Linked DNA regions of Homo sapiens: all the other regions are linked to region 1. Evidence: promoter capture Hi-C in 16 types of primary human blood cells and fetal thymus (Javierre and others, 2016). All regions are on one chromosome and are shown on one strand. The core of a region is centred on a gene start or on the middle of the fragment in contact, and the rest is flanking DNA. Distances in the headings are between cores, read along the strand shown. Region 1 holds the start of FASTKD3 (FAST kinase domains 3). Region 2 has its middle 12 kb from the start of MED10. Region 3 overlaps SRD5A1 (steroid 5 alpha-reductase 1). Region 4 has its middle 27 kb from the start of LINC02102. Region 5 overlaps LINC02102 (long intergenic non-protein coding RNA 2102). Region 6 overlaps TENT4A (terminal nucleotidyltransferase 4A). Region 7 overlaps TENT4A (terminal nucleotidyltransferase 4A).

Evidence for each region. The method cuts DNA at HindIII sites, captures the fragments that hold promoters and counts their contacts. A CHiCAGO score of 5 or more calls a contact.
Region 2: a contact is called between a fragment that was not itself captured here and the fragment with the promoter of FASTKD3 in region 1, in 5 of 17 cell types (activated CD4 T cells, naive CD8 T cells, naive CD4 T cells and 2 more). The highest score is 10.4, in activated CD4 T cells.
Region 3: a contact is called between a fragment that was not itself captured here and the fragment with the promoter of FASTKD3 in region 1, in 1 of 17 cell types (monocytes). The highest score is 8.8, in monocytes.
Region 4: a fragment that was not itself captured here is called in contact with the fragment with the promoter of FASTKD3 in region 1 in 1 of 17 cell types (naive CD8 T cells); the score reaches 7.5 in naive CD8 T cells.
Region 5: a fragment that was not itself captured here is called in contact with the fragment with the promoter of FASTKD3 in region 1 in 2 of 17 cell types (total CD8 T cells and M0 macrophages); the score reaches 6.9 in total CD8 T cells.
Region 6: a fragment that was not itself captured here is called in contact with the fragment with the promoter of FASTKD3 in region 1 in 11 of 17 cell types (total CD4 T cells, total CD8 T cells, non-activated CD4 T cells and 8 more); the score reaches 12.9 in total CD4 T cells.
Region 7: a fragment that was not itself captured here is called in contact with the fragment with the promoter of FASTKD3 in region 1 in 14 of 17 cell types (total CD4 T cells, M2 macrophages, non-activated CD4 T cells and 11 more); the score reaches 25.3 in total CD4 T cells.

What each region holds. Positions count from the first base shown.
Region 1 is chr5:7,866,427-7,870,280 of GRCh38, reverse strand. It overlaps FASTKD3 (FAST kinase domains 3), which reads left to right and starts at 1,250. Exons shown (of 7, transcript NM_024091.4): 1 at 1,250-1,302; 2 at 2,085-3,635. The coding sequence starts at 2,198. It overlaps MTRR (5-methyltetrahydrofolate-homocysteine methyltransferase reductase), which reads right to left and starts at 1,133. Exons shown (of 15, transcript NM_002454.3): 1 at 1,066-1,133. RefSeq lists silencers at 631-680, 741-790, 801-1,240. The HindIII fragment of the contact is 2,367 bases long and covers 314-2,680 here.
Region 2 is chr5:6,388,393-6,392,246 of GRCh38, reverse strand. No RefSeq gene overlaps it. Among named protein-coding and RNA genes, the nearest start is that of MED10, 12 kb to the right of the region's middle. The HindIII fragment of the contact is 517 bases long and covers 1,650-2,166 here.
Region 3 is chr5:6,653,440-6,657,293 of GRCh38, reverse strand. It overlaps SRD5A1 (steroid 5 alpha-reductase 1), which reads right to left. Exons shown (of 5, transcript NM_001047.4): 3 at 1,115-1,216. Among named protein-coding and RNA genes, the nearest start is that of SRD5A1, 22 kb to the right of the region's middle. The HindIII fragment of the contact is 6,478 bases long and covers 1-3,854 here.
Region 4 is chr5:6,678,868-6,682,721 of GRCh38, reverse strand. No RefSeq gene overlaps it. Among named protein-coding and RNA genes, the nearest start is that of LINC02102, 27 kb to the left of the region's middle. The HindIII fragment of the contact is 1,990 bases long and covers 690-2,679 here.
Region 5 is chr5:6,697,195-6,701,048 of GRCh38, reverse strand. The region is part of intron 2 of LINC02102 (long intergenic non-protein coding RNA 2102); the gene reads left to right. Among named protein-coding and RNA genes, the nearest start is that of LINC02102, 8.6 kb to the left of the region's middle. The HindIII fragment of the contact is 3,804 bases long and covers 244-3,854 here.
Region 6 is chr5:6,722,719-6,726,572 of GRCh38, reverse strand. All of the region lies in intron 1 of TENT4A (terminal nucleotidyltransferase 4A), which reads right to left. Among named protein-coding and RNA genes, the nearest start is that of TENT4A, 11 kb to the right of the region's middle. RefSeq lists an enhancer at 1-461. The HindIII fragment of the contact is 1,352 bases long and covers 585-1,936 here.
Region 7 is chr5:6,740,515-6,744,368 of GRCh38, reverse strand. It overlaps TENT4A (terminal nucleotidyltransferase 4A), which reads right to left. Exons shown (of 13, transcript NM_006999.6): 5 at 1,772-1,879; 6 at 529-657. Among named protein-coding and RNA genes, the nearest start is that of TENT4A, 29 kb to the right of the region's middle. The HindIII fragment of the contact is 6,472 bases long and covers 1-3,854 here.

The DNA.
Region 1 (3,854 bases), core at 1-2,500:
TTGGTTCTTATTTGATCCTAACGCTAAACAAACTAATCATAGTACTAAAGGTAACTGAAGCACATACTCTCCTTCATTATTTAATGCAAATCAAAAATATGTGAGTGTATGGGCATATATACAAACGGGTGCATATAACGAAAAAATATTTCCAATCCACTTAAACATTTTACTAACACGTTTTTCCGCAAGAGATAAGCAGTAGTAAAACAAACGACACTCACAGATTTTTTTCCATACTCATCTAACGGCTAAAATTGGTGGGCTGTCAATTTGCAGAGACAGATTTAAACTGAAACCCAAACCAAAAGCTTGGCTTTCGGTGAATGAACCGCCCAGAACGGCACCTGGCATGAAACTGGTACTCGATAAGTTATCTGAATGAGTGAATAAACAATATGAAAACACTACACATTGACAGCTCACAGAAAACGGTGGAAACGATAATGAAAACCTTACTACAGCTAAAATTTCTATCACTTCCCATGAAACACACATCCTGAGGGCTTCCCAGGATCAATCAACCCCTCATCCCTGCTACTGCCCCACAATCCGGCACCACCTTCCCACGACTCTCAGCGGAGGCCCGGGCCCCAGCAGCCCCGGAAGCGGCGCGGAGGCGGTGGGCAGAGCTCACGGCCGCGGGCAGAACTCACGGCCGCGTCCCGCCGGGTGGGCGCTCGGAACGTCCCGGGTTCCCCGGAGCGCGCCGCCCCAACCCGGCATGTTCCCCAGTTCCCCGCGTCCCCGAGTGCGGTTTCCCTAGGCCTGGAAAGCGCCTAGAACCAAAGGCAGAACATGAGGAGAGACCCCACGCCGCCCAGGGGCCTCCCGCGGCAGAGGCCGACGCCGAGCCCAAGGACACGCTCCCGGGGACACCAAAGCCAAAGGCCAAAGGCCAAGTCCGAGCCCCAGCCCGCGCCCGCGGCGACCCCCGGAGGCCGAAGGGCGTGGGAACCACGGGCGCAAGCCGGCTGCCCACCCCCGCCCCGGGCCGCCTCTCCCAGGAGATTAGTGCAGGGCGAGCGGCCGGAATCCGGGAACCGTAGCCGACAGGCAGCTTACCCACGCCGCGCCAGCCGGGCACGAACCTGCACAACGCGACTTCCACCAACCTTGCGCCAGCGCGCACTGACGCAGCGCCCATGCTCGGTACCCAGGACCAATAGAAAGCTCCGAAGGGGACCTGGGCCAATCACATTGCGCCGCCCTGAGTCGTGCTCCCGCCCCGCGTTTGCTACGGAGGCCCACGACGCCCAGGCGCTTCCGCGACCACCCGGAGTGATTGCCCGGCAGAGCGCGGTAGGTGTCAACGCGGGGTCTCCGCGCAGTTGGTCCGGCTGGGTGTCAAAGACCTGGCCGGCTTTCTCCTCAGGCTGCGCCGCCCGGCCCGTGTCTCAGCGCAGGTCCCCGGGGCGCCGAGTTTGGGGGTGCTCGCCCCGCGGGTCCCTTTCATTCCTAGGAAAACGCGCCGCGGGGCCTCCCGTCTGTCTGTCTTGCACACACGTGTTGCCAAATCCCCCCGCACCGTCTTTAGATCTGGACTGGCCGCCCCACCTTCTCCCTTCATTGATCTATGTTTTGCTTTTTCTTTTCCTACCTTGTTTCCATTGACAAAGTAGACCCTTTCCTTCAACACTAACCTTCTCCCGACACCGAGGGGAAACCAACAGCTTAGGGCCTTTCCAGCGCGTTTTTACCCTTGCCTTGCTCTAACCTCGCCTAATTTTGCCCACTTTACCTGTTCTTTGATTTCTATCCAAATGCAATTTCTTCCTTCAACCAACATTTAAGGGCCACCCTTAAGAGCTACATTGCCTGAGTTTGAACCCTAGCTCTGCCACTTAACCACCTGCATAAACTGGGCAAAGTAACTTTGTGCTTCAACTTCTTCCTCGTGTAAAATGATAGTAAAAGTACTGAATCTGTGTAAGTTAATAGAATACCTACAACAGTGTTTAGCAAGTAATAGCGATTGTTATTGTTCAATGTCAGCCACTCTTCTAACTCTAGGATGCAGAGACTTTGCCCCTCTGGTGTTTATATGTTAACCATCCTTTTTTTTTTTTTTTTTTTTTTTCCAGATACTCGTTTGTAGTTTCATAAACATTGATGTTGGGTCAATCATGTTCTCAATGTATTTAACCATGTGTTTTTAAATTTTTTAATTTAGTTATCAAATTGAGAATCTGATGGTATGGCATTAATCACCTTGAGGAAGAACCTTTATCGTTTATCTGATTTTCAGATGCATAGAGCTCTGGCTGCTTTAAAAAATAAACCTCTAAATCATGTTCACAAGGTAGTCAAGGAGCGTCTGTGCCCTTGGTTGTGTTCACGACAACCTGAGCCTTTCGGGGTCAAATTCCATCATGCCCATTGTAAAAAGTTTCATTCGAAAAATGGAAATGACCTTCATCCACTCGGTGGACCAGTGTTCTCTCAAGTATCTGACTGCGACAGGCTTGAACAAAATGTTAAAAATGAGGAGAGTCAGATGTTTTACAGGAGACTGAGCAACTTGACTTCATCAGAAGAAGTGCTAAGTTTTATAAGCACGATGGAAACCCTGCCTGACACTATGGCAGCAGGAGCTTTACAACGAATTTGTGAAGTGGAAAAAAAGGATGGTGATCAAGGGCTGCCAAAAGAAATACTGGAGAATAGCATCTTTCAAGCTTTATGCTTTCAGTTTGAAAAGGAGCCCTCACAGCTGTCAAACACTAGTTTAGTGACTGCTTTGCAAGCTCTGATTCTGTTGCATGTGGATCCTCAAAGTAGCCTGTTGCTGAACCTGGTGGCAGAATGCCAAAATCGTCTCAGAAAAGGTGGCATGGAAGTTCGCAATCTTTGTATTCTTGGGGAAAGTCTGATTACACTGCACAGTTCAGGTTGTGTGACACTAGAACTCATTATAAATCAACTTCAAGGTGAAAAATTGGAAACATTTACCCCGGAGGATATTGTGGCCCTTTATAGAATCTTGCAGGCATGTACTGAAAAAGTGGATGAACACCAAACATTTTTAAATAAGATAAACAACTTTTCCCTATCAATAGTTTCCAACCTGAGTCCTAAATTGATTAGCCAAATGCTCACTGCCCTGGTGGTTCTTGATCAAAGTCAAGCATTTCCTCTGATTATAAAATTGGGCAAATATGTCGTGAGGCATGTCCCACATTTCACTAACGAGGAGCTTAGGAGAGTCTTGGAGGCGTTCATATATTTTGGGCACCATGACACATTTTTTACAAAAGCCCTAGAGCATCGTGTAGCTGCGGTGTGCCTCACGTTGGATCCTGAAGTTGTCTGCAGGGTCATGGAGTACTGCAGTAGAGAACTGATTCTTTCAAAACCCATCCTCAATGCAGTGGCAGAAACTTTTGTTTGCCAAACAGAAAAATTTTCACCTCGTCAGATTTCTGCCTTAATGGAACCATTTGGGAAACTCAATTATTTGCCACCAAATGCCTCTGCTTTATTTAGAAAGCTGGAAAACGTGCTATTCACTCATTTCAATTATTTTCCACCCAAATCATTATTGAAACTTCTTCATTCATGTTCACTTAATGAATGCCATCCAGTCAACTTTCTGGCAAAAATATTCAAGCCTCTTTTCCTTCAACGGCTGCAAGGTGAGTTGGTTATAAATTCTGACAGTTGGAAAAAAGTAACCTTTGAACTGGCAGTGGTTTCAAGTCACATATAAAGGCAATATGTTGCCTTTAGTTTTTCTTCCATAGTGATCCGAAGATGAGACCTGAAGTTAACAGATGCTGGCATAAACACAGTTAAAGCATGCTAGGAAATCATGTAGAGGGAAGAAAGCTGTCTCAGATAAACTGACTTTTGCC
Region 2 (3,854 bases), core at 659-3,158, 1.5 Mb after region 1:
CTAATCAATGAAGAACAAAAAGAGAAATGACAGTCCCTATCCTAGAGACACCTCCAAGGGAGACATCCAAACAGATACTGATATGACAACATGACACTTTATATAAGGGTGACTACCAACATTGAGTGCTTGATGGGGGCCAGACACAGCACTCAGTACTTCACTCGCATCACCCCCAAGAACCTGAGAAAACAAATGGCACCCGAGTGGTAGATGTGGGAGCCGTGATGCAAAGCCAGGTGCATTCGTGCAAAGCTAAGATGCTGTAACAGAGACCTCAAATGTCATCACAGTAGCTAACAAATGGGGATGCCATATTCTAAGTGTTTTACATTTATTACTTCATTTGATTCTCACAACAAACCCAGGTGATACGTGGACTCAGTGTCCCCAGTGCAGTGAGGAGAATTCTGGGGCACACGGAAATGAAGTCATTTGCCCAAGGCCATACAGTTATTAAGTGGTAGGGCTAGGATTTGAACTCAAAAGGTGAGCCCCAAGTCCCTGATATACCCATTATGTCATACTATTGATACTATCTTCCTAACTGTCCTAAAACATTGCCTTGTTTTTCTCTCACTCAACTGTTCTGAGATAAGTAATCCATTTAGGTGGAGAATCTCTGCTCCACTGGGCATTCTAAGATCCATGTTCCTTCCAAACCATTGCTCCTCCATCCTCAGGGGCTCTACTGGCTGATACAGTTGCCGCTGGTGACATGTGACTATTTTAATTTTAATTAATTTAAATACATTTAAAGACAATTGAAATTTCAGTTCCTAGTTGCACTAGCCATAGCTCAAGTGTCTAGTGGCTCGCGTGTTGGACAGCACAGATCTCAAAACACTTCTATTATCTCAGAGTGTTCCACTGCTCTGGGGTACTGTCACCTGCCTGGTGGGACCAATCACCAGCACATCAGGGACAGCCTGAAGAAGATGCACCTGATGCCTCATGTTCCCACCCCGAGCAGATACCCATCATTCCTGCTCCCATCCCTTAGTGCAAAGGCCACAGCTCACTTCAGGGAAGCCTGGGTGTGTTAGTCTGTTCTCACACTGCTATAAGGACATACCTGAGACTGGGCAATTTATAAGGGAAAGAGGTTTAATTGACTCGCAGTTCCACAGGTCTGGGGAGGCCTTGGGAAACTTATAATCATGGCAGAAGGGGACACAAATACATCCTTCTTCACAAGACAGCAGGAGAGAGAAGAATGAGAATCGAGTGATGGGGGAAGCCCCTTATAAAACCATCAGATCTCATGAGAACTTACCATCATGAGAATAGCATGGGGAAAACTGCCCCCATGATTCAATTACCTCCCACCGAGTCCCTCTCATGACACGTGGGGATTATGGGAACTACAATCCAAGATGAGAATGGTGGGAAGACACAGCCAAACCATACCAACGGGAAACACAGACAGTGGGTAGCAATGGGTCTGGCTTCAATTCCATTTCTATGGCAGAAGGGCAGAGCAGGTTTCATTGGGATGCAGGCAGTAACCACTAAACGCATTCTGTCTAAAGGTGGAGACGGTTCTCAGCCTCTAGCAGATTCTCTACCTCTGAGGAGGGAACAGGGCCCAGATGTGTCAGAGCTGACCAGGAAGCTATTAATTCTGCCTGAGGCAGTAAGCAAAAGCTTCACCAACATGCTGACATTTATTTCAGATTTCCCCAAGTAAAGCAGAAGGTATGGAAGAAGACTTTAAAGCAGAGAAAAGAAACCAGCAAAGGCAAAGAGGCGGGATTGGTGAGGGTCCCATGAGGCTGTAGGGCACTGGTCAGTGGGAAGGTGGTATCAGATCAGGTGGTAAGGATTTAGAACTTGTTCTGAGGACCAGCGATTCTCAAAGGAGAAATGAGGGCTGCAGAGCAGCTTCCTGGAGGTCGACTCTTTTCACACTACTTGTCTCACCCCTCCGAGAATCCTTTCCCTCTGCCAGGGGCACATGCACCCACTCCTCTCCTCCTGCCTCACCCAGAGAATTGGGGTAATAGAGTGAGTACATGGTCATGGGGATGGGGCTATGCAGAGAGAGGATTTTAACATCCCTGGTGTAGACAGCGGGGTGATGTCAGGAGGTTTTAGGTTGAGGAATGACATCATCAAATACATTTTTGGAAGAAGGAGCCAGTATACAGCACAAAAAGGAAAGCTTGGCTTTGCACATTTTGGGTAGAAACTGATAGAAGGAAGCCACGTTTACCAAATGCCTTCTACATTCCAGGTGCCATGCGAGATGCTCCACACATCAATAGGCACATTTCTTCTATTTCCAGGAGGAGAAATCTGATGTAAGTGAATCCAGCAGGGATCTGTTCACTGGGTGCAGCGAAGTCAAAGACTGATGTTGGGATAGTAGCAAGAGAAAGTGAGGCGTTTATGTAGGGCCCCAAGCAAGGAAAATCAGGCATCCCATGTTCAAGACCCAACTCCCAGATGGCTCATAGGTGAGGGTTTTTACCAACGTGGAGGCAGAGGTTACAAGTAAAGTCATAAATTCAAATATGGAGACTATACGTTGGTTTGACCTAAAAACGTAGGACAACTGGAAGTTGGGGGCCCACAGGTTATAGGTGGATTTAAAGATTTCTGATCTGTGATTGGCTAAGGAGGCAAAGCTTTGTCTAAAAATGTGGGATCAGCAGAAAACAATGTTATTAGGTTGGTGCAAAATTGCACGTTTTGCCACTGAAAGTAACAGCAAAAAAAAAAAAAAAAAAAACCTGCAATTACTTTTGCACCAAACTGATAGCTCTAACTTGTGGGTGTGACGTTCCCAGGCCCCTTAGGAAGAAATTTAGAACAAAGAACAGTGACCAGAGTTTAGTTTTTAGTTTCCCTTAATTTGAGGTCTATGTGTTAGCAAATCTGTTTGGTGGGGGTTCAGGTTTTTGAAAAATAACTCAGGGACATATGTTAAGGTGTTATTTTCAGTTTTTATAGGGAATAACATATCTCTTGACTAACTTTTTTGGCTACTGTTTTAAGCTACTATTATCTTTTTGTTTATTCAGTTATTTTTCAGTGTGAGCTAGGTGCCTGGAATTTTTCCTGAAGGAACTTAAGAGTTTTCTTTATTTCTTCACTGGGCAGGGGGTGACCTGCAGGCCCCTAGGAGGAGTCCCTGCTCCATCTCACTGAAGACCAAGACAATTCTAGAAATGGGCCAAAGTCATATACCAAAGAAGTACTGGGGCTGCGTCCCTTCCTGGCCATACCTGAGCTCCACTTTAGACAGCCAGGGGGACATAAGAAATGCCATTTGGGGTCACTGAGGGCTCAGTGTGGTCATGAGCTCCTTGGTGGGAAAGTACAATGGCTCTAGTTTCTTTTTTTTTTTTTTTTTTTTTTTGAGACGGAGTCTCGCTCTGTCGCCCAGGCTGGAGTGCAGTGGCGGGATCTCGGCTCACTGCAAGCTCCGCCTCCCGGGTTCACGCCATTCTCCTGCCTCAGCCTCCCAAGTAGCTGGGACTACAGGCGCCCGCCACTACGCCCGGCTAATTTTTTGTATTTTTTTAGTAGAGACGGGGTTTCACCGTTTTTTAGCCGGGATGGTCTCGATCTCCTGACCTCGTGATCCGCCCGCCTCGGCCTCCCAAAGTGCTGGGATTACAGGCGTGAGCCACCGCGCCCGGCCCTCTAGTTTCCAACATTGTCATTTATGAATTAAGTAGAATGAATGCTGCATTTATTTATATTGTAAACAAAAATTTATATTGTAAAAACAACCCCCCCCCCAAAAAAACCCACCAAACACTCAACTTTTTAGCTTAATAAATTCAGCGAACTCTATTTCTTATTGCAGAAGCAAAAATTCTCTCATTTGTTTGCTGTGGTAAGAA
Region 3 (3,854 bases), core at 712-3,211, 1.2 Mb after region 1:
CTCTGTCATGTTTTCTCTTCTCTGCCACTTCTATCACACTACCATCACGTCTGGAGCTGGCTTTGCTGATTCCAGGTTCTCAGGGTCACAGTTTAAGTAATTTGAGGTTTGTAGCATTGTTTGTTTTTGTTGCTATTCTCATATGGTTTCTAGGAACATAAGTGGAAGAATTTCAAACTAAGTGATGTCACGCCCTTTCTCCATTAAAGTTTTAGATTTATGTACTTTAAAAAATTTTTTCTGAAGCTCTATTGGTTTCTAGTCCTTTTATGGTACATTGCTTCTTACTCCTAATTGTAATCTACTCCTTTTAAAAAGCATTTCAAGTACTCACTTTATAATGTTTCCATTAATTCTAACATCTGAAATCTTTCATGTTGAATTACGCTCTCCCTCATGGTGCTGTACTTCCTTGTGGGTTCTGTACCTTGTGACCGTGCCTCTTACTCTGTGGAACGTGGCACATTGGGTTCTTTGAGACTCAGGTTGAATGCACATCCCCTTGGGGATCTGGGCTTTTGCTGGCCAGGAGAGTCCACCACTACCCCAGGCCACGGAAATTAATTTATGGCTTGAGATTTTTCATACTATACAAGTAGTGCGAATCTGGGTTATAAACCAGCATGGTGGTCGGCGCCTCATCACAAATTCTCAAAAGACACGCTCCAGATTCCAACATTCACCTAGATCTTGTCCTCTGATGATTAGTTCCTTTCTTGATAGTATACTGATGCGTTTAAGAAGATTTTCAAAATATTCCAATGTTTTAAACTGTTTTCAGAGGAGGGTCAAAGTATCTATTCCATTATACTGCTAGAAACAAAAGTGTCAGACACTCCTCGTCAATCATAAATTCTTCCTCATCCTCTCTTCCCAAGCACAGATATAACTGGAGTTTCTGCTTTGTTTAATAACTGTTCAGTTAGCTAGATTTGGGTCTTTTGTTATTCTAATAAGACAATAACAATAGCACTTGTTATTAATAATGATGACTTACACTGAAAACTTGTAGCTAATAACTACTACGCTACTACTTCTTAGAGCTGGCAACACTAAAATAGCCAGGAACCATGGCAAGCAACTTTCACAGAAATTCTTCACTTTCTGTACGTACCCCTTGGTATTTTGTATCCAGTATCTCCTGGTTTTCTGAGATTCCTTAGGATATGATCTGAATGGATGTTTATCAACATGCCCGTTAACCACAAGCCAAAACCTAAAGGAAAAAAATTGCAAGATGATTATGGCTAATAAACCGTAAAATTTCACTACGAGCCCCAGCCTGACTGAACAGTATTATTGCAACCCTTCAGATTACCATTGTTAGTGTAACATATTAGCCATAACTGGTAGTAAAAACCATTAAGGACTGTTGTCAGGTATGCCAAGCAGGGCTTTGTTTTCCTAATAATACAAATACATCATCTAATGTACTCAAAATACTTTGACCTGTTCATCACAATCTACATCTTCAGGATGACAAGTATGGACAGAAATCTGACTTGGGCACACGGCTCCTTTCCAGGGAGCATCAGGGAGTCAGCCCACCAGACAGACGCATCCCACTTATTTCTCACAAAATCTGCATGAGGCAATGCTGCCATCTCCACCACATGAACCAGGAGGGGTGATGCTCCTGTGCTGCTCTGTCACCACTGGCTGTACGTCACCCCTTGAAGGGTGGCAGTTCCTAGGAGTAGATCTCTGGTCTTCTCTTATTTACAACCTCATTTAAACAAATTAATGCGCATCTATGTTTCCCCCACAGCAGAATTCCTGCAGGCTCATCAATCAGCATTGCTCGGTCAGTCCTTCCTCCTCGGTTCTTGACAAGAGTCTCCCGTGGCCGCCTGCATGGTTCTCCCCAGAATCCCACGGTATCCCCAGTTTTCTCTCCTATTCTTACGAATCCGCAGGGATTTTTCATCACTTAAAGGAGAGTTGTTAGTATCACATCAATTAATTCCATCAAGAAAAGGCAAAAGGCCAAAACAGTGTTTTATAAAAGAAATATTGATAAAAAGAGGTTAACTTGATGGTTCTGATATACTTTTTTAAAATGGGAAAGACAGATGCTGCTTAGTGCTGGCATTCAGTTCAATATTAAATCAATGTACACGTGGGGCATCATTATTATCTGAGTCATCACCAGTGACATTGAATACTTTTTCACAGTTAGAAAAAGGACATGGAAAACCTTCTGGTCTATAGCAAGGGTTTCAAGATTTCTTCCTTCTGATTTTGCCACTGTAATCAGCTTTTATTTTTTTTTCCTAAGCAAAGCAGTTCATACCAAGTTTTATAATACGTTTTGTAAGTCATTTATTGGATCCATACATTTATAGTTGATTTGCTACCTTTTTGGGATTTTAGTATTTCACCCCTAGGTAATTTGGCTTCCAATATGAGATTCTAGAAAGGAATCATGTTGTCTAAATAACATGGTTACTTTATGTTTCTTCCAGGAGACAAGCTCCCTTTATTGCTTAGATTGGAAGAAAACTAGTACTTGTGTTCATCTAAGCTAAATATTTAATTCCATTTATAAGATCTTAAAATCTGGCTGGGCATAGTGGCTCACACCTATAATCCCAGCACTTTGGGAGGCCAAGGTGGGTGGATCACTTCAGGCCAGGGGTTCAAGACCAGCCTGGCCAACATGGTGAAACCCCATCTCTACTGAAAATACAAAAATTAACCAGGTAAGATGGCGCAAGCCTGTAATCCCAGCTACTCTGAGGTTGAGGCACAAGAATTGCTTGAGCCTGGGAGGCACACGTTGCCATGAGCCAAGATCACGCCACTGCACTCCAGCCTGGATGACAGGCTGCCTCAAGAAAAAACAAACAAACAAACAAAAAAAAAACTTAAAATCTTTCTATAAAATATTTTAGATTAACCACTTTTGCTGTTTTGAAAAACCTTTTGTTAGAAATTTGCTGGGCATGGTGGCTCACACCTGTAATCCCACCACTTTGGGAGGCTGAGGCGGGTGAATCACCTGAGGTCAGGAGTCCAAGACCAGTCTGGCCAACATGATGAAACCCTGTCTTTACTAAAAAAAATAAAAAAAATTAGTTGGGCATAGTGGCATGCACCTATAGTCCCAGCTACTCGGGAGGCTGAGGCAGGAGAATCTCTTGAACTCAGGAGGCAGAGGTTGCAGTGAGCCGAGATTGCACCTCTGCACTCCAGCCTGGGCGATAGAGAAACTCCATCTCAAAAAAAAAAATATATTATTATTATTTGCTTATTACTTCATGGTAACTACAGTAGGCATAATTACTTATTTATGTAATTTCACGTCTGTTTCCTCACAAAAACAATAAACTCTAGGCAATAAATATAACACACAAAAGGTAACCTAGATTGTCTTCCACTTGGCATATTTTTTCCTTTTCAAATCCTTCTGTTTAATTGTAGAGAAGTCAAGAGGTCTGTCTACAATTGATTGGTGTTTGGAATCTCTGACCAGCTTCACAGTCACCTCTACGTGATGCGAACCATCTGCGGAGCTACTTTAAACAGGAGGGTTCTTCTGTTGTTGTTCACCATAGAGGTGAGTCCCATGAGACTCTCTGGCAAACATTTAAAATCTGTATCTTTAGTTAAAAAGAAAAAAAGAAAGAAATTCCCCTTCCTCTTATTCCTTGTTACCACTTGCGGAAGCTCAGCTTGGTGAGGTGGTGGAAATCACCGCTCTGCCATTCACTGCGTCTAGATGTCTTGGGCCAGCTGTGTAACTCTTCTGACCTTTCACATCTTAGGGACATCCTTTCTGCCTCAGAGAACATGGGGAGGCATAAATCGTGTGATCTGCACAGGAACTCAAAAGCCTGTTCTTCCTCTTGACA
Region 4 (3,854 bases), core at 435-2,934, 1.2 Mb after region 1:
CTTAAAAAATTAAAACAAAACATTTCATTAATTATTTACTTACTTGCCTAAAAATGTCTTTATGACCAACAAATGGAACAGCTTTTGCACTTCAAAGTAAAATCTTCACTTTCACAAATCACCAGCAGCGCAGCAGAGCCAGCCATGGGAGGCAGACGAGGCACGAGACTTCCCAGAGCCTGTCGATCCCCGTCACTTCTGTCTGTCCTGGAGTCTGAGCCCTAGCGTCACCCCTCTAGCCCCGACCCTCTAGCCCAATTCCTCTAGTCCCGCCCTTCTATCTCCACCTCTCTAGCCCCGCCCCTCTAGCCCCGCCCCTCTGGCCCCACCGCTCTAGCTCCACCTCTGTAGTCCCACTGCTCTAACCCCACACTTCTAGCCTCACTTGTCTAACCCCACCCCAAACCCACCCCTCTAGCTCCAGCCACTCTGGCCCCATCCTCTAGCCCACTCATCTAGCACCACTCCTCTAGCCCCATCCCTGTACCCCCACCCCTAACCTGACCCTTCTTGCCCTACTCCTCTAGCTGCACCCCTGTAGCTCCACTGCTTGGCCCCTGCTCCTCTGAGGCTGCCCTGCTCCTGTGAGGGATTTGAGCAACCCCTTGAATTTGGCTTCTAGGCTTTCAGTAGCTCCCACCCACTTGCTACTTGATTTTGGACTTTTCATGTTGAAAGTTAAACAAGCTTATTTCCCCACTGTGGTAGTAGCCAGCTTTTGTTGACTACACACACACACACCCCCCACACACACACACGATACACACTGCACATACACACACACCACGCACAGATACACACACACCCCACACAGATACACCACACAGACATACATACCACATACACACACATACACACACACACACACACACCACACACACATACCACATACACACCACACATACAGATGCACACACTGCACAGGTACACAGATACACAGCACATGTACACACATACATACACAAACCACACATATACACACACATATAGTGACACACAAACACATACACCACAGATATAGTCACACACCACCACACACACCAACTCTGTTATGGATGGAACTGTGTGCCCAAGTTCCTATATTGAAGCCCTGCACCCAGTGTAACTGTATTTACAGATGGAAGCATTAAGGAGGCCCTCAGGGTTAAACAAGGCCATGAAGGTGGGGCCCTCATCTAATAGGACTGGTGTCCTTCAGGAAGAGGAGAAGACACCAGACCCCACTCTTTCTCTGAGCACACAGAGGAAAGGCTATGGTGAGGATGCAGTGAGAAGGTGCCATACACAGGCCAGGAAGAGAGACCTCACCAGAAACCAACCCTGCTGGAACCTTGATCTTGGACCCCCAGCCTCCAGAACTGTGAGAAAATACATTTCAGTTGTGTCAGCTACCCAGTGTGTGATTTTGTTATTGCAGCCTGAGCTAATATAGTATCGAAAGTTCCTTCCTGATCATCGAATTCAACCTGCATAATTCCAGCCATATAGAGGGTTGGTATAACATTTTCCAGGATGTCAGAGTAATCAAGTTCCCCACAGCCTAGGTTATGGCAGAGTGAAAAAAGGTGAACACGACTCTGAGGCGGGACTGTGAAGGTGTATTGTTGGCCCTGCTGGGTAAGCGCAAACCCCTTTGCATACAGTACTTGCAAATTGGAAAAGAAATTGAAAGCATTTGTCAGATCAATAGCTGCCTATCAAATACCAGGAGCTGTGATAATATTTTCCAATAAACGTGGAAGAGCAGCTGCTTTTGGATTCACTGCCTAATTAAATTTATGGTAATCCACAGCCCATACCTTCTGAAAAAGCTGAATAGGTAAGCTAAATGGGGACGTAATAGTCTTTCAAGTTACTCAAAGAGAGTAACCTGGTCAAAGTTTACTGCAGAAATACTGCCAGTGCCACCATTCTTATATCTTTGAGGGTCATGCCAATCTCTGCAGTCTACTCAGGAATATGGTATTACTTTGGGTTTATTGTCCTAGAAGGAAGGAAAAGTTCCAGGAATTCTACCTGCTGTTTCCTCCCATACTAGCTCTTATTCCAAGCATCAGAGAAGCAACGTGTGTAGTCTTTCCATTTCTGATGGCATGTATTCCACCTAATCTTGGCAGGCACTGGAAAATAACAGCAAAGTGGACCCATGGCCAACTGGACCCACTGTGGAGCTTAGGCAAAAACTCCATTTATCATTTAAACAACATAAGCCTTCCCTTTCACTAGTGAAGCTCACTGTTATCATTATTCCCACAAATTAGCATCAATTCAGAGCCATCATCTAGCAATTCTCCAAATTCTGAGAATTTCCTTTTCTCCACTGCACATTTGTCCTACTGAATGGACACTGGTCCTTTGGAGAGTGCTTGGAGAAAGACTGACAGAATAAATACGTGGCAGCATTGCAGGGTCTTTAGTTGTATACCTAGTAGTTCAGTAACAGTACTGTCTTCCCCCTTGGACTCCAAGATCCGTCAACACAGAGGTATGTCTGCTCAGCTCACTCTGAGATTCTCAGAACCTAGCACAGACCCAGACACAGAGGGGGCTTGTGAATAATTTCTGAATGAATGAAGCAGGGATGAGCTGAGGGAAAGAAAGCGACACGATGCTGGGCCCTATGCACACAGGTTTGGGATCAAAACTCCAGCTGCTCATAAAGTGTCCTGTACTCAAGCTTGTGCATCTGTCTCCCTCAGGCTCCCCAGCGCATGACAGCTTCATAGAACCAGGTTCCAGGTGTTCAGAATTCTGAGTGTTGACCATCTCAATCTTTTTGTGGGCAGAGACAGCCTCTTTTTTCCTACTTACCTCACTGTAAGTACTTACCTCTCCATCTCTGGATTTAGCCATGGCTCAGCTCCAAGGATGATTCTGGACTGAACACATAAAGGATGGGAGAAGCACCAGCCCAATCTCTGAGCCTGAGTGTCAAGTCACCCCTGCCACTTGCTTGAGTCTGACTCATGCCCTCTATGTGTGCGTGGACATCTGGGTGCCCTGGAGTTGGAGGCTTTGCCCTAACAACCTGTGTGGTCCCTTGATGGCTAGGATCCTCTTGGTCACCTTCATCTCCCTATTCGTCTTACCAGGTCCTTCTCCTCATCTCTTGCCGGGGGTCTTTTGGTGGAGTTCCCTGATAGCTATTTAGATTTTCAGTTGGATCCCATGCTTTGCATTTTATTTTTTTATTGTTTTATTTTTATTTTGTAATAGTTTTAGATGATCAGAGAAAAGTTTCAAAATAGTACAGAGTTCCCATAAATCCCTAGGGCAATTATCAAATCAGGAAATCGACAAGGGTACTGCCCTTTTAACTAAATTGCAGATCTTATTGAAGTTTTGACAGCTTTTCCATTAATGTCATTTTTCTACCCCAGGGTATGATACAGGATCCCACATTTTGTTTAGCTGTCTTGTCTCCCTAGTCCTCTCCAGGCTGTGATAGTTCCTCATTCTTTTCTTGTCTTTCATGACCTTGACATAGTTGAAGAACACTGGTTAGGTATTTTAGAATGCCTCTTCATTTGGGTTCTGGGAAGTATTTTTAAATACAACATTATGTCATAGTATTTCTGGCCTAACATCCATGCTTCCATATCACTTGCAGAATAACATCTTCAACTTGCCATCGGGACATAAGGACTCCTTATTATGTGGTCCTGCTGTCCTTTCCTCCTCTTTTGCACATGGCCTTTGGAATCACCAAGTCCTGCAGCCATCCAGAAACTATCCTGAACCCCCTCTAATAAATATGTTTGAGCATTGTTGTCCTTTCTTACCTGAAATACTTTTCTTCCTTCCCCCTTGTCTACTTTGTGAACTCACAATCATTATTCAATACTATGCTATTC
Region 5 (3,854 bases), core at 896-3,395, 1.2 Mb after region 1:
TCCCTAATCCTAGACCCTCATCTTCATACCAGCCTGATTTTTAGCCACTCACCCACTTGCTGAAGCCTGGAAGCTACCAGAGCTGGTTTGCCCATAGCCCCTGTGCAAGCCTCGGGCTACCTTGTCTCTGACCTGTGCCTCAGGGTGCAGTGTTTCCTGGACACTCCCCTAACATCACCTTTGCCTCTCCCGGCGCAGTGCCAGCCTTCCAGACCCAGATCCAACCAAGACCTCTGTAAAGCTTTCCTGGCCGCATCAACCTTAAAGTAATGAACGTAGGAGAGAGAAATTTGTAACAATTGTGAAAATTACTGTGGTGATTGTGAAAATGAATAATAGGGCTTTTCTTATTGCCTTGAATTACGTTAGCTCTTCCACTTTTTAATTTTCACCCTTTTGCTCAGCATCCCCGGTGGACTAGAGGCTTTGTCCCAGCAGAAGCGTTGCCACCCCCCCGGAATCTGAGCCCTTCACTGGACCCAGCTCCGTGGCCTGCAGACAGGAAGCCCCCAGTGAACACATGCTGGCGTGGTGTGAATTCACCCCCCTGCCTCTCCACTCCTTTGTGCTTCCCAGGAGGGGCAATGCAACAGGCATTGCAACAGGCATCCCCAGCATCACAGGGCAGAAATGCTCCACAAAAGTCTCAAACTAAACTGAGAGAGACATTATTCACTTCCAAGTGCTTCAAACAGCAAAAGAGTAAGGCGGAGGACAAGAAAAGTATTGACGACTGGTAAATATTTAAGGAGTAACCGAGTCAATGCCAAGCATGCTGAGCTCTGAGCCAAACCACATTCAGGAAGAGATCAACGTAGAGCACAAAAGACTTAGGTTTTCACATTTGCTTGAAAATGTAAGCAGTTACTAAGTAAAAATTAAAAGATGATTGGCTAGGTGTGGTGGCTCATTCCAGCACTTTGAGAGGCCGAAGCGGGAGGATCACTTGAGGCCAGGAAGTTGAGACAGCCTGGGCAATATAGCAAAACCCTGTCTCTACAAAACATTTTTAAAAATTAGCCAGGCACGGTAGTGTGCACCTGTAATCCCAGCTACTGGGGAGGATGGCCTGAGCCTGGGAGATGAAGGCTGCAGTGAGCTGCGTTTGCACCACTGCACTCCAGCCTGGGTGACAGAGTGAGACCTTATCTCAAAAGGAAAAAAAAAAAATTGAAAAGGGTTGCTTTATTAGGAAAGTCATATTCATGGCCCTAAAACCTTCAAAGAAATTGTCACGTATGGTACAAGAAGATATATTCAATTTGCTTTGTCTTCCTCTTCAGGTCAATCACATAATCTTTGTAAAATTCACTTCCATTCCTTTTGAATGGGACTTGTGCTTCTCAACTGGAATGATACTTTTCATCATAAAGTTAGAGAGGGATCTTGGCTAACTTTTTTTTCCAGAGAAGCGGACTCTTTTCAGGACAAAGCACTCAGCATATTTTAGAGACACAGATCATAGCATGTGTTTGCCAGAAGGCACACAGCTATTGGAGGGAGATGGGAGAAATTTCACCTCTTTCTTTTACACTAATTCCTAAGGAGGAGTTTGTGAAGATTGGAGTGTCATAAGAAATACATGCATAAATGCTGTAATTATATTATTAGTTAAAGGCTTAACTAGTAAGACAGATGAATCCATTTCAAGTCTAAACAATAAAATGACAAACCATAAAGGTGGTTCTCAAATTACTTCATGGGGGAGATAGAAAGCTGTGTTCTGAAAGTATTGTATTTGCAAAATGCCTGAAGCAAACAAAACATGCTGCTGAGGGAATTCATTTCCAGAATTCAAATTTTTGAAACAGCTATGAACAGTTATTGCCAACACTAGCACATTATTTATATCCTGCTAGCTTAGAAGTTTTTAAAAACTAGATAAGTTTAATTTCAAATTGTAACTTCTTAGGACTGAAAGTCTCCTGATGTCTAAAATGTGACCTATAATTTCATGGGAGAAAAAAATGATATTTATGGTAAATGTAAAGCCCATTACTGGATAAATCTTCTAAATATGTAAGTTTTTTATGCAAGAAAGATGTGAAGACAAAAAAATTTCCAACTAGTGGATCATGAGACATAAAGCAGTGGTTCAGTGGGTTAGTATAATATTTTAGGAATAATGACCAACCACTGTGAAGGGGAAAAATATTCATAGAGTACTTTTTCTGACTGTGAGTCATGCTTAGAATTTCCTTACCCAATCAAATACATATATTCACCATCTGCCTTTACATTTCACATTTAAAGCGTTAATTCAGGCTAGGTGCAGTGGCTCATGCCTGTAATCTCAGCACTTTGGGAGGCTGAGGCAGGAGGATCACTTGAGTCCAGGAGTTCAAGACCAGCCTGGGCAACATAGCGAGACTGCGTCTTTACAAAATAAAAATTAAAAAATTAGCCAGATGTGGTGGCATGCACTTGTAGTTCCAGCTGTTCCAGAGGCTGAAGTGGGAGATTGCTTGAGGAGTTTGAGACTGCAGTGAACTATGATCACACTGCTGTACTCCAGCCTGGGCAATAGAGCGAGACCTTGTCTCTAGAGGAAAAAAAGCAAAACAAAACTTTAATGCATTTTGAATTTATTTTGTGTAAGACATAAGATAGGAAATTTATTTTTTTCTAAATGATAATGCATTCCAATATACTATTTCTCCAGTTATTGAGATTATGATATCATAAATTCTTACAGAAACTTGAGTACATTTCTAAAGTTTCTATTGAGTTCCAGTGATTGGTCTATTTATTTGTTGACGAAAAAAATATTGTTTTGCTTATTAGACTGTAAATTGATGTTTACTATCTAGTAAGAGGATACTTCTCCTCCAAAATTAAATGTTATTTTACTGAAAAAATCTTGTATATTCAAGCAAATGTATTGTTCTAGATAAATCAGGACAATTTTGGTAAGTTCAAGAACAAAACCCCAACGGAGTTCTATAAATTTAAATGTATTATATTACATTTTTAGATTCTATAAATGGAATTTATCAACTTGTGCTAAATACATAGAAGAATTAATACAGGAAGTCCTAGCCAGAGCAATCAGGCAAAAGAAAGAAACAAAAAGACATTCCGATTGGAAAAGAGGAAATCAAAACTATCTGTTTGTTGGTGATATAATTATATACCTAGAAAACCCTAAAGACTCCTAGATCTCATAAATAAACTCAGTAAACTCTCAGGTTATAAAATCAGTGTAGGGAAATCCATAGCAATGCTATACAACAACAATGACCAAGCTGAGAATGAAATTAAGAACTCAATTCCTTTTACAATAACCACAAAAAAGCTAGGAATATACTTAACCACAAAGGTGAAATATGTCTACAAGGAGAACTACAAAATACTGCTAAAAGAAATAATAGATGGTACAAATAAATAGAAGTACATCGCATGCTTATAGATTAGAAAAATCAATATTGTGAAAATGGCCATACCGCCCAAAGCAATCTACAGATTCCATGCAATTCCTATTAATATACCAACATCATTTTTCATAGAATTAGAAAAACAATCCTAAAATTCACATGAAACTAAAAAAGAGCCTGAATATCCAAAACAATGCTAAATGAAAAGAGCAAATTTGGAGGCGTCATATTACCTGAGTTCAAATTATACAACAAGGGCTGTAGTAACCAAAACAGCATGTTATTGGTATAAAAGTAGATACATAGACCCATGGAACAGAATAAAGAACCATAAATAAAGCCAGATACTTACAATCAATTGATCTTTGACAAAGCACACAAAAACATAAACCGGTGAAAGGACACCCTATTCAATAAATGATGCCGGGAAAATCGGATAGCCACATGTAGAAGAATGAAGCTGGATCTCTGTCTCTCACC
Region 6 (3,854 bases), core at 11-2,510, 1.1 Mb after region 1:
CAGTGGCTCCTATCTGCAAACGCGGTAGAGGACAGTGGATGCCAGGTCAAGGTGGCACGGCACAAGTCACAGACAGAGGACACTGTAGGATGCCCTGCAGGACCACAGGACTGAGCTGACCAGAGGCAACGCAGGGGGCGTCGCCTCAAAGAAACTCACCAGAAGCATGAACCACATTAGGAACTTAGAAATCTCAGGCAGCAGTCCCGGGAAGCCTCCTGATGATGAGCATGAGGTCTGTGGAATATGCTGCAAATCGTGGTTTCCCAGGCAGAGACGAGACTGCAGACCCTTCAGGAGCCTGAAGTGCCTGAGGTCAGATCGCGTCCCAAGTACAACACAGGGACGCAGCTCCCCCTACATGGTGCTGTCATGAAGACTTAATAAATCCACACTGGCAAGTGCTTAGCACAGGGCCTGGCCCTCGGTAAGGGTTCGGTGCAACAGTGGTCATAACTACAAACAAACTACAGAGGTTGAAAATTCACGGACACAAACACCACCACTGGGCACCAGAGGAGGGAGAAACAAAGGCTGAGCCTCCAACCTACACAGCCCAAGCAAACCAAGACTTCATCAAAGCTTTTACTCTGACGTTGCTGCACTTAGCCACTTAAGGTTTTCATCATGTTTTATGCTCTTAGTCTCAGCAGTATCTCTTAGAAACTAGTATTTCCAACTGAAGTTGGACACCTTTCCCTTTCAAGCAAAATTAATAATTTGGCAAATTTATGTAAAGATAAGACTTTTAATAAAAGTATTTCTACTGACCAATCCATGTGTCCATCTACACGAGCCTAGAGAGAGAGGTCCTACAGTGGCAGCCACCTGCTTGTGCTTCTGGGTGGTGGGACTGAGTGACTTTAGAGCTTTCTGCTTTAAAAAACAAACCACGGATCAGTTTTACAAAAACAATGTCATTATGTTTTAGTTAGTTAGCACGAAGCACTCTTAGAAACAACCTCTAGCTTTGAAGCAATCAGCAAATGGCAGTGTAAGATGGCACACACAGCAGGTGGTCCGCAGCCTCTCTACAACTGGTGATGACAGCACCAGGTCCTCCTGTTTGGTTGACAGAAGTCACCCTCAGAATCCTCTTGGGAAAATCAGGGCACTAGCTGTCCATCTCTGGAGTCTCTGAATCATGTGGAGACTGGGCAGGCCCTCAGACAGCATCGGCATCTCTCCTGAGAAGACAGACATCACTTCTCTGGAACTCAGCATAATTGTTTTCTTTTTTTTTTCTTTTTTTGAGACGGAGTCTCGCTCTGTCACGCAGGCTGGAGTGCAGTAGTGTGATCTCGGCTCACTGCAACCTCCGCCTCCTGGATTCAAGAGATTCTCCTGCCTCAGCCTCCCAAGTAGCTGGGACTACAGGTGCGTGCCATCACGCCCGGATAATTTTTTGTATTTTTAGTAGAGATGGGGTTTTACTGTGTTAGCCAGGATGGTCTCGATCTCCTGAACTTGTGATCCGCCCTCCTTGGCCTCCCAAAGTGCTGGGATTACAGGCGTGAGCCATTGCACCCAGCCTGTTTTCCTCTTTATTAGCTTATCTCTTTGGACAATTCTCGCTTTGCTCTACATTTCCAGTGGCTAAAGAGACAGGCTACGGAGTGAGACTACCTGGACTCCAATGCCTGCTTTACACCTACCAGCTGTGTGACCCCAGGCCAGCTGTGCCGAGAACAGCCTCTCCCAGGAGGGTGGCAGGAGACACTGTATAAAGGGTGAGGGCTCAGTCAGGCCAGTGGTGATTACTACTGTGGCTAGGACTGTACACCACTCACCTGATGGCAGCAGAGGAAAAGCTGAGGTCCCCACCTATTAAGGGAGGCTCTGTGAACAGCAAGTCATCTTCCCCAACCACAGGCCTTGTTATTTTATTCTAAAACCAATCCTAAAACGCGCTTTTTACTCAACGAGTCTGCAAGCTTCAGTTCATTCCATGCTTTCATCTCCCTGAATAGTTCCCATAGATTCCTACCCTTTAGAGTGTGGTCTCGGTGCTCTATCCTTCCACCTGTCACACTCGTCCTTCAGCATGAACATCAGTCTCTTGTGAGTCAGAACCACAAACTCTAGATAGATTCACCTTTTGCTTTCTTCCATGAGGTAACTCATAATGACACTTTAGAATTCCTTTGCATTTCACAGGACATGCAAGGTATCCTTTTCTATATTTTTGGCCATCATTTCATCGTTGTCCTTCCATTTTTTAATAATGTTTTACATAAGTTTAGAGACGATGCCTATAACCAAAATACACTTTACTGTGTTGCGTCACTGGCCCATCTCTGCCCATTCACAGAGGTCTTGCGTGGCTCTTCACTCCAACATACCAGTGCCCTCTCTGTGGGGGAGGTGGGAAGAAGCCCAGGCTTGCATACCATGCAGACCTGCATCTGGGCACCAGTGCCTTTATTTTCTAGTAGCGCCTTGGGCAAGACGCTTGAATCACTTAATGCTTAATTTTTCTCTCTTCAAAATGAGTTATAGTCCAGGATTGCGAGACTGCAGGTCAAGCCCCCAGTGCAGCAGTGCTGACTGAGGCAGCTGCGCTGCCAGTCCTGCCTTGTCTTTCAACTGCCGTCAGATGAAACAGCGAGTAAACAGCTCATCAGATGCTCCACTCTTCATAGAATGCAACTTCTAAGAATACTCCAGGTGACAGAAATCCCGCTTCCACACTGCAGCCTCCCTCCAGGCCAGTTCTGGAACACCTCAAGAAAGCACGAACCTGAGCGTACTACTGCGCAGGACTGGCTTCCCTATGAAATCCTCAACACTCCGCAACCCCACAGCTATCAACTTTGTCCTGCGGTGGCTGTCAAAGCACCCCACCACATCTGAATCTAATCTCTTTAGGAAAACAAAGCAAAAGGCCCTGCACCAACATATTTGAACCATGTTTGTAGAATGAGTTGCTAGGTTCCATCCCCCGCATGTTAGCGACGTCTTGTTCACTGAACACTGTTAGGAGTAAAGTGCCCAGATGTCAGCCGTGAATTCACATTTCCAACTGCAGCACCTCTTGCCAGGTCACGTCAGACTGTCAAGGCTTCAGTTTTCTGTCTACAAAACAGGAGTAATATCACTCATTTCAAGGGTCAGCTCTGGGAACTAAAGGAGCAAACTCGTGCAGAGAGCTAAGCCAAAAGAGCCCCACACACGAGCCACAATGGTGCTCGTGACCAGGAAGACTGTTGAGAGAAGGAAGTGACCGTCTGCACCATCATTAACCTGCGTGCAAAAATGCTGAGACCTATCACCTGCATGCTGGACTGGAGACACTCCAGGTCATAACAGTTGCTCCATGTTGCTCTGTGCTGCGCTCTGCTATGAACCTATTTTATGCTTCATGTGCTATTAAAACAGCGGCTTTTTGAAAAGGATTTGCATTGGAAACTCAAACAATTTCTAGAGCTTTCACAGTGATAACTTGCTGAGTAACACAGCTTTTACTGTTGTATGAGTTTCAATTTATTTCAGCAACAGTTACTGAATCAAACACTGTTTCAAATAGAGCCTAAAGTTACTGCAGTTCAGAGCTGTCTAAATACATGGCCATTTAAATTTTAATTAAAAGTAAATAAAATTAAAATTCAGCTCCTCAGTTGCATTTGTCACATTTCAAGTGCTCAAAAGTCACATATGGCCAGTGGCTACTGTATTAGTGCAAAAATAGAATTATTCCATCTCCACAGGAAGTTCTACTGGACAGTGCTGTTCTAGTTGCCTACTTAATGTTCCCTGGCCCTTAATTTTGTTTTCCTTCACTATACACAGAACACTATGTTAGAAGCTGCAAAGAGTTCAGAAAACACTTCATCCACTCCTTCTACTATGTGCAA
Region 7 (3,854 bases), core at 649-3,148, 1.1 Mb after region 1:
ACAGCATTTAACAATACTTTTTAAAACACGTAGGTTTTCTATTGATAGATTTTCCATGTTACTCAGCAAAATAAGGACCACATATAATTTAAGACAAAATAATGATGTTTCATCAGTCTGAGAAAGCTCTCTTGTAAATCCTTTTCTCATATGTGGTACTCAACTTTATTCTGAGACAAATTTTTTTCAATATAAATCACAGACAAGCACCAAGAAATGTTTATTGTTTACCATGAAATGGACATTTCTGAATACAGAGAATTCCCTGAGCTTGGACTGATGTGCACTGGACTCACAGAACCAGACGGGCACCCCTGCACCAACAGTTACACCCAGTACAAAATGAGCATCCAGAAAGGTGCATTAATCAAGAGGGTTTGATTGTAAGAATCAGAAATCAGCCTCTACCAAATTGAAACAATACAGTAAAAGGAGAGCAAAGGCTGCTGGAACCCACTAGGCAACTGGTTGGAAGAGTCTACTCTTACACATGTCTCAACAGAAACAGTCTCAAGAAAGCATACATACCTGTAGAAAGCTAATGGCCATTAAAATTAGGCTGTATGAGCTAATTCCACCTGTAAAAACTTCATTCAGGTCCCTCTGCAGAAGGAACTGTTTCAATACTAAAATCAAGTAAGGCAGCAATGAATATTTCTGTAAATTCCAAAAGAAAAAGATTTACTGAGTAATTACCATACTTTCAAAGAGATTTCACATAGCAAATCACACAAGACAGAAAGGAAAGTTTCCTCGATCCTCTTGCCCATCTGAAGGCTCTCAGTCATTAAGTCTCAAACTTTGGTTGGGGGACGCTAAGAATTAATTTCCTGAGGGGCTTGTGAAAATCGAGACTGTGGAGCTCTCCCTGGGTTACGACTCAGCAGGGGTGCACCCCTACCATGACGAGTCCACAGGCACAAAGGAACTCAGGAAGAGACCAGCGCGTTCACTGGAGTGTTTATGTGCTTGCTACACAGGCCATGAGGACAGTGGGGGCCTCCGGAGCAGGAGAGCAGAGTGAGGCTGGCAAGGAAGGCAGAGCGGCAGGAGATGGCAGGAGGGAGGGAAAGCCTGGCTGCTGCTGTTCGTGTTGCGCTTGGGGTGGACATGCTCCCTCAGACCAGATGACAAGGGGGAAGGGGGAACCTGAAGAGCAAGGCCCTTGAAAATGGAACAAGATGGGACCAGATTGCAGGGGTGGATTTGCCCCTGCTAAGGATTGCAACAGCCTCTACTGCAACAGGAGGTCACGACCACCCGGAGGTGCGTCTGCCCCTGCTAAGGACTGCACGGCCTCTACTGTAACAGGAGGTCATGACCACCCGTTTAAGACCAGGCACATGGTCAGAGTCCCAAACATGTCAGCTCAACCAAGTCTCTCTGCCCATCCTCAGGCACTGAGACCTCCCAAAGTGAGTATATTTAAGGCACCTCATGATTTATCAACTTCCACCTGGGTAAAACCTGCGAATGAGGCACACTGAGCTAGAAGCAAAGTCTGTAATAACTAGAAAGAACATTTTAACAAAGCTCTCTAAAATAATTGTCAACTTTATAAAATGGTTACTCAGGAAAAGCAAATTTTAAAAACAGCTATGTAATTTCAAAGTATCTCTAGAAATAATATTGTAGGAGAAATAATGTAAGTGTAGTCTGTGTTACGAAAGACTTGTGTGTGCAGCTGACAGCTGTAAACATCGTAGGATGCCACCAAGCACAAGCACTCCAGTCCTGCACTCTCGCCGCGCTGGGTCACCAAGCACAGTACCTTCATGTAATTCTTGATGAACTCCGCTGCCCGGACGCCCGTCTCCATGTTAAAGCTGATGTCAACTTTCACTTCAGTCTCCTGATCTGTGAGCTTTATTATTGGTACCTGTAAAGATTTCATTTTAAAAACTGCTTTAACATGCAGGACTCTCCACAGCCAGGCATCAAAATGCTGCCAAAGCTGTACAGAGGTTTGGTGTTTTTTCTTAGTAATGAAAGGGGGTCAGAGAACACTGTCAGCATCAGTAGTCCCTGAACCCAGGACGACTCCCAGGCCCCAGCCCCTCACAGCAGGACCCACATTCTGCCCAGCCCCTGTAGCCCTGGATCAGCACCAGAGGTGACCAAGCATCAAAGAGACGTGAGGGGAGGGAGCCAACAGGGAACAGGAGTTAGTCTCTGCCACGCCCACCCTATGTGCTGGGATGGAGAGAGGTGCTTGGCCCCAGACTTTTATTTGGCAGAATTTTTGAAATCATTTAATGTAACTTCGAAGCCATTTTTTAAATTGTATGTTATACTGATATTGTTTCTCTACTTTGGGTTTTCACTCTTTAAGACAACTTTACTAAAAAAATTTTTCCCCTAAAAAATTCAGCAAATAAAAGGCTATTTTAGAAATATTCTCACCAACAAGAACTGTCACCGAATGGCATTCAAAATCTGCCTGAGCAACTGTCCAGACCACACTCATGCCCCACCCTCCACCCCACCAGTAAAACTGAATTCTTCCAGAAGAAAAGGCAATGTTTTGTTTCCTTCAGCCTTGAAGGATTAAAAAAAGGAATTCCTTTAACCAAAACAATCAGTGTCTAACGAAAAGTTCAAATGCCAGTGATAGGCAACGTAGGGACAGTGCATTCAGTACACACCTATTCTGGGCTTTAATGTCTACACTTGAGGGCAACCAACCAAGGACTCAGCGTGTGAGGACATGCCAGTGGGGCCAGAGTCACCTGGACACCACTGCGACCACCAGGCAGGGTAAGCCCTGAGGCCAGTATGTTCTTAAGAAGGCAGAGAAAGAAATACTTTCCCAAAGAACTCATCAGAAACTGCTTTGGAAGAAGCCAACACTCAATGGCTATGCCTCCCTGACACCCACAGTTTAGGAAGCAGCTTCCTTTCCATCTCATAGACTCCTTCCCACAATCACTCCTGGCACTCTCCTGCCCTACTCTTGCACACACTCACTCACGGCAGGAACCCCAAATCCTGGAGGTGAGGAGTTAACACTGTAACACAGTTTTGGGTTGTTGTTCCAAATAGACAAGATTTCACCTTAAACTCAGCCCTCGCCCTGGGTCTCTTGTGCCCATGACTGGCCGGCTGCACAGTGCTCCCCAGAAATGAGCAGTGGCAGGCTCCAGGCTCTCCCTACAGTCTACACTGGCCCTCAGGTAACAGAGGAAAAGATACTTAGTAGCCAATATGCGACAGTAACGAGGTCACTGGGACTAAGCAGTTACTGTAACTGCTCAACCTACTGTGTGGCCTCAGGACAGCCGCGCCTTAGTTCCTCTACTCCAAAGGTGGTCGCCTGGTCAGGATTCCCACCCACCTCCCCGCTGCCCCTTGGCACACACAGAGGAGCAGCAGACAACAGCGGCCTGGACTATGCCGCTGACCCACCTTGGGCTAATGACCTCACCTCTCCGCATCTCAGTTTCCTCACCTGTAAAATGTGAACAGCAACAGCATCTGCTGATGAGAGTGGCTGGGAGAGCTAAGTGCAATAAGGCCCGTAAGCATTTGAGAAAGTGGCCGGCCAGGGCTTGTCTCGTGCTAATGAGAAGAGCCAACAGCCCCTTCTGGAACCTGGGCCTGGAGGGAACCTCTGGTGCTGCCTGCTCGCTCTGGTCCACATGACAGTGACATGAGCATGTGCACTTCGTTAACTCTCACCAAGAGGTGCACCTGGTACATGTGCACTTTTCAGTGCATATATCATGTTTTAAAACTTGCCCCCAGCCTCAATCAAAAGCACCTGACAATGAGAAACATGTGAATGCCCCCTCCCCTATCACCACACAGGCAGGAGGAAGCTCCTGCCTTAACTTACATTCTGCTAAACACTATAA